Linked DNA regions of Homo sapiens: region 1 is linked to region 2. Evidence: promoter capture Hi-C in human tissues and cell types (Jung and others, 2019). All regions are on one chromosome and are shown on one strand. The core of a region is centred on a gene start or on the middle of the fragment in contact, and the rest is flanking DNA. Distances in the headings are between cores, read along the strand shown.

Evidence for each region. Contacts are between HindIII fragments. The study calls those that stand out against the background at their distance.
Region 1: a fragment that was not itself captured here is called in contact with the fragment with the promoter of CA4 in region 2 in 2 of the 25 tissues and cell types used here (H1 embryonic stem cells and aorta).

What each region holds. Positions count from the first base shown.
Region 1 is chr17:60,199,552-60,204,841 of GRCh38, forward strand. All of the region lies in intron 26 of USP32 (ubiquitin specific peptidase 32), which reads right to left. Among named protein-coding and RNA genes, the nearest start is that of CA4, 52 kb to the left of the region's middle. The HindIII fragment of the contact is 3,210 bases long and covers 1-3,132 here.
Region 2 is chr17:60,146,129-60,151,668 of GRCh38, forward strand. It overlaps CA4 (carbonic anhydrase 4), which reads left to right and starts at 3,845. Exons shown (of 8, transcript NM_000717.5): 1 at 3,845-3,964. The coding sequence starts at 3,907. The HindIII fragment of the contact is 35,208 bases long and covers 1-5,540 here.

The sequences.
Region 1 (5,290 bases), core at 278-2,777, 51 kb after region 2:
TGAGTAGTTAGAAAAGCTAAATCAACAACTTATCAACTCACTAGGGGTTAAGTTAGCTAGTTTCTAAGTAAAAAGACCCTTTATTCAGATTATTAAGCATTTTATTTTGCCATTTTCATTTAAGCTTAAATACATAATTTTAAGCCTCTATTTCATATGTTACTATTATTATAAGATCCAGAGAAATCCAGACAGAGTTCAGTACAAATATTTTATAAAATTTTAAAACGTAGCTAAACCCACACAATTTTCATCCTCTCATTAAGGAACTTCTCCTAGTGCCCTAGGGCCCATACTTTCTCAGTTACTACTGAGATAAATTCTACTCCTAGTTATTAACATGGTTAGAAACTTCAAGCCAGGGCCAGGTGCAGTGGCTCATGCCTGTAATCCCAGCACTTCAGGAGGCCGAGGCGGGCGGATCATGAGGTCAGGAGTTCGAGACCAGCCTGGCCAATATGGTGAAACCCTGTCTCTACTAAAAACACAAAAATTATCTGGGCATGGTGGCAGGCACCTGTAGTCCCAGCTACTCGGGAGGCTGAGGCAGGAGAATCACTTGAACGCAGGAGGCATAGAGTACAGTGAGCCGAGATCGTGCCATTGCACTCCAGCCTGGCCGACAACAGCAAGACTCTGTCTCAACCAAAAAAAAAAGAAAGAAATTTTAAGCCAAGGGCTACTAATGCAGAGAAAAATAAAAATCAGAGGTAAAAGGGTACATTTCTGGCTGGATGTGGTGGCTCACACCTGTAATTCCAGCACTTTGGGAGGCCAAGGTGGGTGGATCACCTGAGGTCGGGAGTTCGAGACAGCCTGACCAACATAGAGAAACTCTGTCTCTACTAAAAATACAAAATTAGCCAGGCGTGGTGCCGCATGCCTGTAATCCCAGCTACTCAGGAGGCTGAGGCAGGAGAATCACTTGAACACAGGAGGCGGAGGTTGCAGTGAGTTGAGGGCCTGCCACTGCACTCCAGCCTGGGCAACAAGAGTGAAACTCCATTGCAAAAAAAAAAAAAAAGTACATTTCAAATAATTATCACAAAGCAACTAGCTTTCCATTATCACTGAGTTTAAGAAACAGAATATAGCGAACACTCAAAAGCCTCCCATTTGCTTCCTCCAAATCACAAATTCTCCCTTCCTCACAAAGGTAACTATTATTCTAAATGTTACAGTAATCACTTTCTTGCTTTTCTTTACAGTTTTATATCCTATGCACAAGTAAATAAACACTAGATTTCATTTTCCCTGTTTTAAAAGTTTTTATATTTATAAATAGAATTACTTAATTCATTTTTGTTTGTTTGTTTTTTGTTTTTTGAAACAGGGTCTAGCTCTGTCATCCAGGCTGGAGCGTAGTGGTGTGATCTCAGCTCACTGCAACCTCCACCTTCTGGGCTTGAGAGATTCTCTTGCCTCAGCCTCCCAAGTAGCTGGGACTACAGGTGTGTGGCACACGCTGGCTAATTTCTGTATTTTCTGTAGAGATGGGGTTTCACCATGTTGCCCAGGCTGGTCTTAAACTCCTGGGCTCAAGCAATCGGCCCACCTCAGCCTCCCAAAATGCTGAGATTACAGGTGTGAGCCACCGTGCCTAGCCTAATTCTTTTGTGTTTGGCTTCTTTCCATCAACATTAGGTTTACGAGATTCATTTATACTCTATATAACTACAAATCCATTCATTTTCATTCCTGTATAATGTTCCATTATCTTAATATATCTCAGCTTCCCAATCCCTTCTACAACTAATGGACATGCAATGTTTTCATTTTGGGGCTACTATAGATAATGGTGCTACGAATATTCTTGTACATATCTCCTGGTACACATATCTCTTGGGTGGATACCTACAGGTAGAACTGCTTATCTTTAACTAGAAAATTGTATTCCAAAGTAGTTGTTTATAGTATTTAATTTATAATTAAAATTATTTATAATTAAATATAAAGTTAATTTATATTCTCATCAGCATGGTATGAGAGTTCCTGTTGCTCTACTTAGCAACCCTGTCAGTCTGTTTAATTTTACCTGTTCAGGTGAGTGCACTGATATCATAATATTGTTTTAATTTACATTTCACTGATTACTAGTGTCGTTGATCATTTTTTTTTTTTTTTTGAGACGGAGTCTCGCTCTGTTGCCCAGGCTGGAATGCAATGGCATGATCTCGGCCCATTGCAACCTCTGCCTCTGGGGTTCAAGTGATTCTCCTGCCTCAGCCTCCCGAGTAGCTGGGACTACATGTGCCCACCATCACGCCCAGTTAATTTTTGTATTTTTAGTAGAGATGGAGTTTCACCATATTGGCCAGGCTGGTCTTGAACTCCTGACCTTGTGATCCATCCGTCTCGGCCTCTCAAAGTGCTGGGATTATAGGCGTGAGCCACCGCACCCAGCCAAGTTATCAATTTTAATGAAGTCCAATTTAATCTTTTCTTTTATATGAGTAGCGTCAGGAATGTATTTACCAGTATTATCTTCCAAGGGCTGTTTCATTGTTTTGCTTTCAAATTTAGCTCTATAGAACACCTGGAATTGTGGTGAAAGGTAGGTGCCAAGTTTCATATGGATATCTAATTGTCCCAGCACCACTTGCTGAGAAAACTATCTTTCTCTCACCACTCTGCAATGTTATCTTTGTTATAAATCAGGTGTTCATACATTTGTGAACTGGTTTCTGGGCTCTCTATTCTATCCCAATGGTCTACTTGTCTTTTCTTGTACCAATATGACATTATTTTAAATATCATATCTTTGTGAAATAAATCTTGATATCTGGATGATATCCAATCTTGATGATATCCTCATATCTTACTCTTCTTCAAGAGTATCTTGGTTATTCCTGGTGCTTTGTATTTCCACATATGAGAATCAGCTTATCAAATCACACACACACACACACACACACACACACACACACGCAGACTTTGCATTTGTATTGGGATTGTGCATTAAGTCATCCGTAGATTAGTTTGTAGAGAACTGATATCTTAAAATATTGAGTCTTCTAATCCATGAACATGGTTTACTCCTTCCAATATTTCAGTCTTCTTTAATTTCTATCAATATTTTATTTTCTATATAGATGTCTTATGTGTCATTTTTAAAGTTTATTCCTAGGTACTTAATTTTTTCTCAGCATTTAATTTTTTTGATACTAAGATAAATAATATCTGTAGTTGAGTTGAATGGTGGCCTCTAAAACAGTATATCCATATATCCATGTTCTAACCCCTGGAACCAGTAAATGTGACCTAATTTGGTAAAAGGATGTTTGTAGATGTAATTAAGTTGAGGATGTCAAGATGAGATCATCCTGGATTGTCTGGGTGGGCCCTAAATTCAATAAGTATCCTTATCAGAGAAAGACAGAGAGAAGGAGAAGGCTATATGAAGAGGCAGGGATTGCAGTTATGCAGTCACAAGCCAAAGAATGCCTGGAGCCACCAGAGGTTAGAAGAGACAAGAAAGCATTCTCTCCTAGAACCTTTGGAGGAAGCCCCCACCCTACAGAAACCTTAGTTTCAGACTTCTGGCCTCCAGAAGGTGAAAGAATAAATTTCTGGGCCGGGTGCAGTGGCTCATACCTGTAAACCCAGCACTTTGGGAGGCCGAGGCAGGCAGATCACGAGGTCAGATCAAGACCATCCTGGCCAACATGGTGAAACCCCATCTCTACTAAAAATACAAAAATTAGCCAGGCATGGTGGCGTGCACCTGTAGTATCAGCTACTTGGGAGGCTGAGGCAGGAGAATTGCTTGAACCCAGGAGGCGGAGGCTGCAGTGAGTGGAGATCACGCCACTGCACTCCAGCCTGGGCGACAGAGCGAGACTGTCAAAAAAAAAAAAAAAAAAAAAAAAAGAATATATTTCTGTTGTTTAAAGCCACCAAATTTGTGGTAATTTGTTATAACAGTCCTAAGAAACCAATACAGTACCTTTTTTACAATTTCGTTTTCTCTTGTTGCTGCTATACAATCAATTTACTTGATCTAGAAGCCTTGCTTTCCTTTATTTTATTTATTTATTTATTTAAGACGGAGTTTTGCTCTTGTCGCCCAGGCTGGAGTGCAATGGCACGATCTCGGCTCACTGCAACCTCCGCCTCCCAGGTTCAAGCGATTCTCCTGCCTCAGCCTCCTGAGTAGCTAGGACTACCGGCGTGTGCCACCATGCCTGGCTGATTGTTGTATTTTTAATAGAGACGGGGTTTCACCATCTTGGCCAGGCTGGTCTCGAACTCCTGACCTCACGATCCACCCGCTTCGGCCTCCCAAAGTGCTGGGATTACAGGCATGAGCCACTGTGCCCGGCCTTTCCTTTACTTTATAAAATTAAGACACTAAAGTCCAAAGAGCTCAATCAGCTATCTAGTGGCAGAATTAGAACTAAAACATAGGTTGCTAAATTCCTAGTTCAGTGCCCTTTCTACTCTACCAAGTTGCCACTATACCCGAAGACTACCTCTTTAACAATTATCCACTGACCAGTTTTCAAACCTTCCTTTTTCTTTTTTACCAAAGAGTCAACCTTTAATGCAATAGTTATATATTAGACTGTCAAGAGAGGAATTACGCACAACTTGATTTTCCTCAAGAACATTCTTGTATCCTCTAAGAAAAAAAACAAAACAAAACAAAAAAACCAACCCCAAAACAAAAAACTTTTCCGAAGCCATCCGCATTTACGTGGCAGTGAAGATATACATACCTACACAAACACACAGGAAACATAAATTTTGTGTGTGTTGGTTTTTGTTTTTTTCTAATTTTTTTAGAGACAAGGTCTCACTTATTGCCCAGGTTGGAGTGGAGTGGTTATTTACAGGTGTGAGCATCATAGCATATTATAGCTTCAAAATCCTGTCCTAAAGGGATCCTCCTAAACATGCCTGGCTTAGGAGATACTTTTTTTTTTTTTTTTTTTTGAGACAAAGTCTCACTTTATCACCCAGGCTGGAGTGCTGTGGCGCAATCTTCGCTCACTGCAACCTCTGCCTCCTGGGTTCAAGCAATTCTCCTGCCTCAGCATCTCGAGTAGCTGAAGCTACAGGCGCATGCCACCATGCCCAGCTAATTTTTTTATTTTTAGTAGAGATGGGGTTTCACCACATTGGCCAGGCTGTTCTCAAACTCCTGACTTCAGGTGATCCCCCTGCTTCAGCCTCCCAAAGTGCTGGGAGTATAGATGTGAGCCACCGCACCTGGCCATTTTCTTTCTTTCTTTCTTTTCTTTTTCAGACAGGGTCTTGCCCAGCCTGGAATGTGTGGGGCAAGCAAGCA
Region 2 (5,540 bases), core at 2,595-5,094:
AAACCCCTCTCCAGCCTCACCTCCATGCCTTTTCTCATTCTGTTTCCTTCACCTGCATCTCCCTTCCCTTTTTAAGTTAAAGTCTACTTTTCTTTGAAGACTCAGTGCGGGTCTGATCTCTTGAGGGAGGCTTCCCCAGTCTCTTTCCTACAGGCTGGGTTAGGGGCTGCTCCTCTGGGCTCCTGTGCTGTTCTGGGCATAAGGCCACTGTGGCCTTAACAACTAAGAATTACAGCTGAGGTTTACTGAGCACTCAGTAAGTGTCCAGACAGGCCCTTCACCCAGCATTACCTTGTGGAATTTTAACCACGCTCTTGTGAAGGTATTGCTGGTTTTCTTTTTTTCTTTTTTTTTTTTTCTTTTTGAGATAGAGTCTTGCTCTATTGCCCAGGCTGGAGTGCAGTGACACAATCTCAGCTCACTACAACCTCTGCCTCCTGGGTTCAAGTGATTCTCCTGCCTCCACTTCCCATGTAGCTGGGATTACAGGCACCCGCCACCACACCTGGCTAATTTTTGTGTTTTTAGTGAGACGGGGGTTTCTCCATCTTGGCCAGGCTGGTCTCGAACTCCTGACCTCAAGTGATCTGCCCACCTCGGCCTCCCAAAGTGTTGAGATTACAGGCATGAGCCACTGTGCCCGGCAGCTGCTGTTTTTATTTCTGCTGTGTTTTTTGTTATTTTGGTTTTTTTTTAAAATCATGGTCGAAGGCTGGTGATTTTCCTGATCAGGACACTGAGCCTGACGGGGGTGAAAGCTGAGTGTCGGGTCTGGGATGTAGACCCCGGGCAGTGTGGCTCCTACTCCTATTCTGACCCTCTGCCTGATATTCTCTCTGCCCTCCTGCGACGCTGAGCATAAGGTATGATAGGTTTCTGTTTAGGGCAATGTATTTGACCTTCCCCTGAGCTGTGAACCCAGGGGTGCAGGGTCTCAGCTCCCTTTGTGCCTCCACTCCATGGCTCTCACAGTTCCAGCGGGAGCTGCATCTGAACCTCATGTTCCCAGGTTTACAGTCAGGGCTCTCCTCCTTGCCCTTGGGAGCCCAGGAAGAGCCTGGATGTGCCAGGGCCCCTCTCCAGTGCTAACTCAATGTTCCATCCCACCCAATGCTGCCTCCACACCTGCCTAGGGTCAGATTTAATCCAGCTAAGGGGACTCTGCTTAGAGGTCATGGCCACATGTGCCAATGTGCCAAGCCGTGGGCCCAGCCTCCTCAGACTTTAGCTCACTGAGGCCTCAGGGCAATCTTTGAGAGAGATTGGGGGATGATTTCCATTTCATAGATGAGGAAAACTGAGGCTCAGCTGCCATCACAGAGCAAGTGGATGGAGCCAGAAGTGACTCCAGGGTTATGTGTCTCAAAGCCCCTTAGCTTTCCCATGGCCTCCCTTCTGTTCCTGACAGGGCCATGCGTGCAAACATCCCCAGAGGACAAGAGTGTGATTAATCTTTGCATCCGCCATGGGCCAGTGGCTACACCCAGGCACTGAGAGGCCGGTTGTGAGAGTCTGGGCTGGGCAGGCCCTGGTTCACAGCAGACTCCAAATAACTGTTTATTGGTGGAGGTCAGCCGGGCAGGGATTACCATCTCCAGTTTATAGATGAGGAAGTTGCAATCAGCCGGGTGCAGGAAAGTTGCCCAAGGTCATCCGTGAGTCAGAAGAAGAGCAAAGACTTGAACTCAGAACACTGGGGGCCTCTGCAGAGTAAGAGGAAGGAGGCTGGGGCTGCTGGGCTGGGCTCTCCCACTCAGGTGGCCTGGGCTGGCAGCTTTATGGGCCCTGTAAGTCGCTGGGACATGTCAGCACTCATTCCAGCTCTAACGACCCTAAATCAGGCCTTGTCCCCTACAGGTAAGCAGGGCCCCAGGTAGTCTAAATAGTGACAGGTGACTGGTTTATGGCAGGCCAGGACTGGGGTCAGGGCTGGAGATAAGGCTGAGAATGTTAAGACCAGGAACAGGAAGAGAGGGCCACTCACCCTGTGTAACCTTGAAGTTAGAGATGGCAGATGGAGCAGGAACCAGTCCACCACCCCATCGCCAATGTGCAGGCTCTGTGGTGCCCATAATTAAGATGCACCCATAAGAGAGTGTATAGCTTTACCCCTCCCGCATTCCTCAGAGGGGATGCCCTACCAGGGACTCGTTCTCCTCACCCATCTTTATGGTCCCAAAATGCACCCAGGGCCCCCCTCTCTCCTGGGGGGCCTGAATGCAATGAACTTTAAAGTGGATCATTGATCAACAGTCCCTTAACCCCACCAAAGTTTCCCAAGCCTCTCCCCTGCTCATCAGGGGGCTGGCCAGAGGTCACAGGGACTCCCTGGGGGTGGTTTTTATTCCCAGGAACAGGCTTCCTCAGTCCTGAAAGGGACATTTTTATAGCCCTGTGAACACAAATGCACTCCCCAGAATAGGCTCTGGGTGTGGAATCCCTCCTGTGGCTGTCATGGTCGCAGGCTGGTGATTACATTATACAGTGGTGTTGACAATAGAGCCCTAAGCCTGGCATGGACACCCCCTCACCTCCCTCCTGCCTCTCTGTAGGATCAAAGCTGCTCTGTGAGGCTGTGTGATCCTGGGCCAGGAGCGGGGAGTCAGCCTCAACCCTAAGCAAGGAGGAAGCATCTTTGCCTGAATCCTTCTGGGGGAGGCAATCCCCCTTCAGAAGTCCCTAGCCCAGGTTCGAAGGTCGGTAGGGACTGAGAGGTTGGCAGCGGATGGGGAGTGGCTAAACCAGAAAAAGGGGGCTTCCTGTTGATGGATTGATGGAGGAGGTCCAGGTCCACTGCCTGGTTCCCCGTCCCTCTCCCGCACCCCAGCCTGAGCTTCCCAAACTCCCACAGAAGCCCCCACCCCATGTGGGACACAGAGGACCTGCAGTAGCAGGAGGGCACAGCTAAGAGAGGAGACAAGAGGCAGCTTGGGGGCATGGGGGGGACCCCATTTCCCCAAATGTTGGAGCCGCCCTTAAGGGAACTTCCCCTGGACTCCTCTGGAGGTCTTGCCAGATGGGAGAACCAGGGGTCCATTCAGACCCCAGTCTCTTCTCTTCCCATCTCATCTCTCCACCTGGGGGGCTCAAAGAACCTAGCTCCTCCCCTTTGACCCCATCAGCTTCTCCCTCACCGAATCCTCTTACAATCCATTTCTTAATTCTGCCCCATCAACCCTCCCTGGTCATCACATAAACACCAGCAAGGGCAGTAGTTTAGGGACAGCTTTGCTCTGTATTCGAAGAAAGGTCTTTGGTCTGCTTAGAAATTAAGTTTGGAGCAGCCTGGGAGGAAATAGAAGAGATGAGACCCAGAGAATCAATGGCCACTGCCAAAGAGAGATAGGAGAGCCTTTCTGCGGCCACTGATTCAACAAACGGCATCACACGCCCCTCAGCCTCTCATCTCTTCGAGGCCATCTCCACCCCCACCCCCACCCCCACCCCAAGGCCATTCCAAGGTCCCATTCAAGACCACTGCGCAGGGGTGGCGCCAGAATGATCAAAGTCATCATGGGGCACTCATCTTTGTGTGGGTCAAGCACTTTGTGGTGTCGTGTCCCTGTTCCCAAACCAGGGACCAGGAGTAGGATGGGGGAGGGGCAGGGCGCCGCTGCTGAGTGGAGAGGACGCGGAGTGGGTGAGGGGGCCTTGCGCACAGGGCAAGAGGTGGCCAGGCAGGGCGGGGGACCGGGGAGAGCGGAGGATTTCAGATGAGGGACAGGGGAAGGTGGAGAGGGGAGGGCAGGCCCCGCCAGGGGGAGGAGCCGCCTCCCGCGTCCAGCTGTCGGGGCTCCCTCCCGTCGCGGCTCCGCTATAAAACCCAGGCCGGCAGGATCGCTGCACCCGCGGCGGCCTCCTCGGTGCGCGACCCCCGGCTCAGAGGACTCTTTGCTGTCCCGCAAGATGCGGATGCTGCTGGCGCTCCTGGCCCTCTCCGCGGCGCGGCCATCGGCCAGTGCAGGTGAGCTCCCGGGCTCCGGCCCCAGGTGCCCCTCGGCGGTCCCCTCCGTGCCCCCAGCTCCCGCCCCTGCAGAGGATCCCCCCGCGGGCGACCGGTGAGCGTCGGTGGCGCTGGGGTCCCGGGTTGCGTGTGCGCCGGGGGCCGCGAGGGTGCGGGAGGACTGGGCAGCGCGCGAGCTTGTGTGTGCACACGCGTGTCAGCACCGGCTGGGGGAGCGTGTGCACGGGTGTGCGCGGTGAGGGTGTGTGCGCGTGGCCCGGCGAGACGAGTTGGGAGTCCCTGATAAGGATGCGTCTCAGGCCGGGCGCGGGTGCTCCAGCCTGAAATGCCAGCACGTTGGGAGGCAGAGGCGGGTGGATCACCTGAGCCCAGGAGTTCGAGACCAGCATGGCCAACATGGTGAAATCCCATCTCTACCAAAAATACAAACATTAGCCGGACGTGGTGGCACACGCCTGTAATCCCAGCTACTCGGGAGGCTGAGGCCCGAGAATCGCTTGAACCCAGGAGGTGGAGGTTGCAGTGAGATCACGCCACTGCACTCCAGCCTGGTGCTCCGTTTAAAAAAAAAAAAAAAAAAAAAAAAAAAAAAAAAAAAGGATGCTTCTCGGACCCGCCTCAACGCACGCCTTCTTTTCTCACCCAGCCTCCTCCGTCTGCCCGTGGGTTTCCGTCCGTCCCGCTGGGACTCAGCGCTGGGTGACTGCCCCGCGGCCAGAGCAAGGGCGGTCTGGCAGGGTCCTGGAAGCCGCGCTTCCCACACGGGTTCCTTGCCCCTGAGGGTCGCAAGCTCCCCTGGCCTCCCTAACCTCCAGCGCTGAATTGGGAGCCTGGCGGGGGCGGGGGGTGGGGGACCCGGAGCCCCAAGGCCTCTGCGGAGCCGGTCTTTCCGGACAGGGTGATTTTCGTTTAAAGATTAATGGTGAAGCCGAGCTCTTAATTATTCCTCTAGGTGGGAGGTGGCAGGAAAGGCATGTTAATATTTGATAAGAAGCTAAAGGCGCTTCAAGCGGCTGGGCACAGGGATCCGATCCTGGAGGCACCTTCTTTGCAACCCCAGACCCCATCACCGGAAGACCCCCTCTGCCAGTTCTCAGCCCAACCACCCCTCGGATGGTTCTTGGGGTCCACGCAGGCTGAAACCTCCTCTCCCAAGTTAGGTGCTCCATCCTCAAAGCGGCGGAGTGAGGGGTGAAGGTGTCCTCTGCACAGAGAGGAGCCAGCGTGTGCCCTTTGCAGCAGGGACTGGCTGAGCTGTCTTAGAGGGTCGAGGGGCACCTTGCAGCCTCTCCACCGGGCCCCTGGGAGAAGAAAGAGAAAAAGCAGAATGTGGAAACTTTTATTTGTAGGGTTGGACATTGGAAACCTACTAAGCAGCTAGAAAGTAGAAAGAGAAATGCTTTGCAGTTCTGGTGCTTTGTAGCTGTGTGGTCTTGGGTAAGTCACTTCCTGTCCCATTTGCAAAACAGGTGTTGTCATTCTGACTTCAGGGGTTTTAAGCGTTTGAATAAGATAATGGGTTTAAGTGATTAGTGCGGTGCCTGTGTGGCACGTGGCTGGTGTGTCATATACCAAG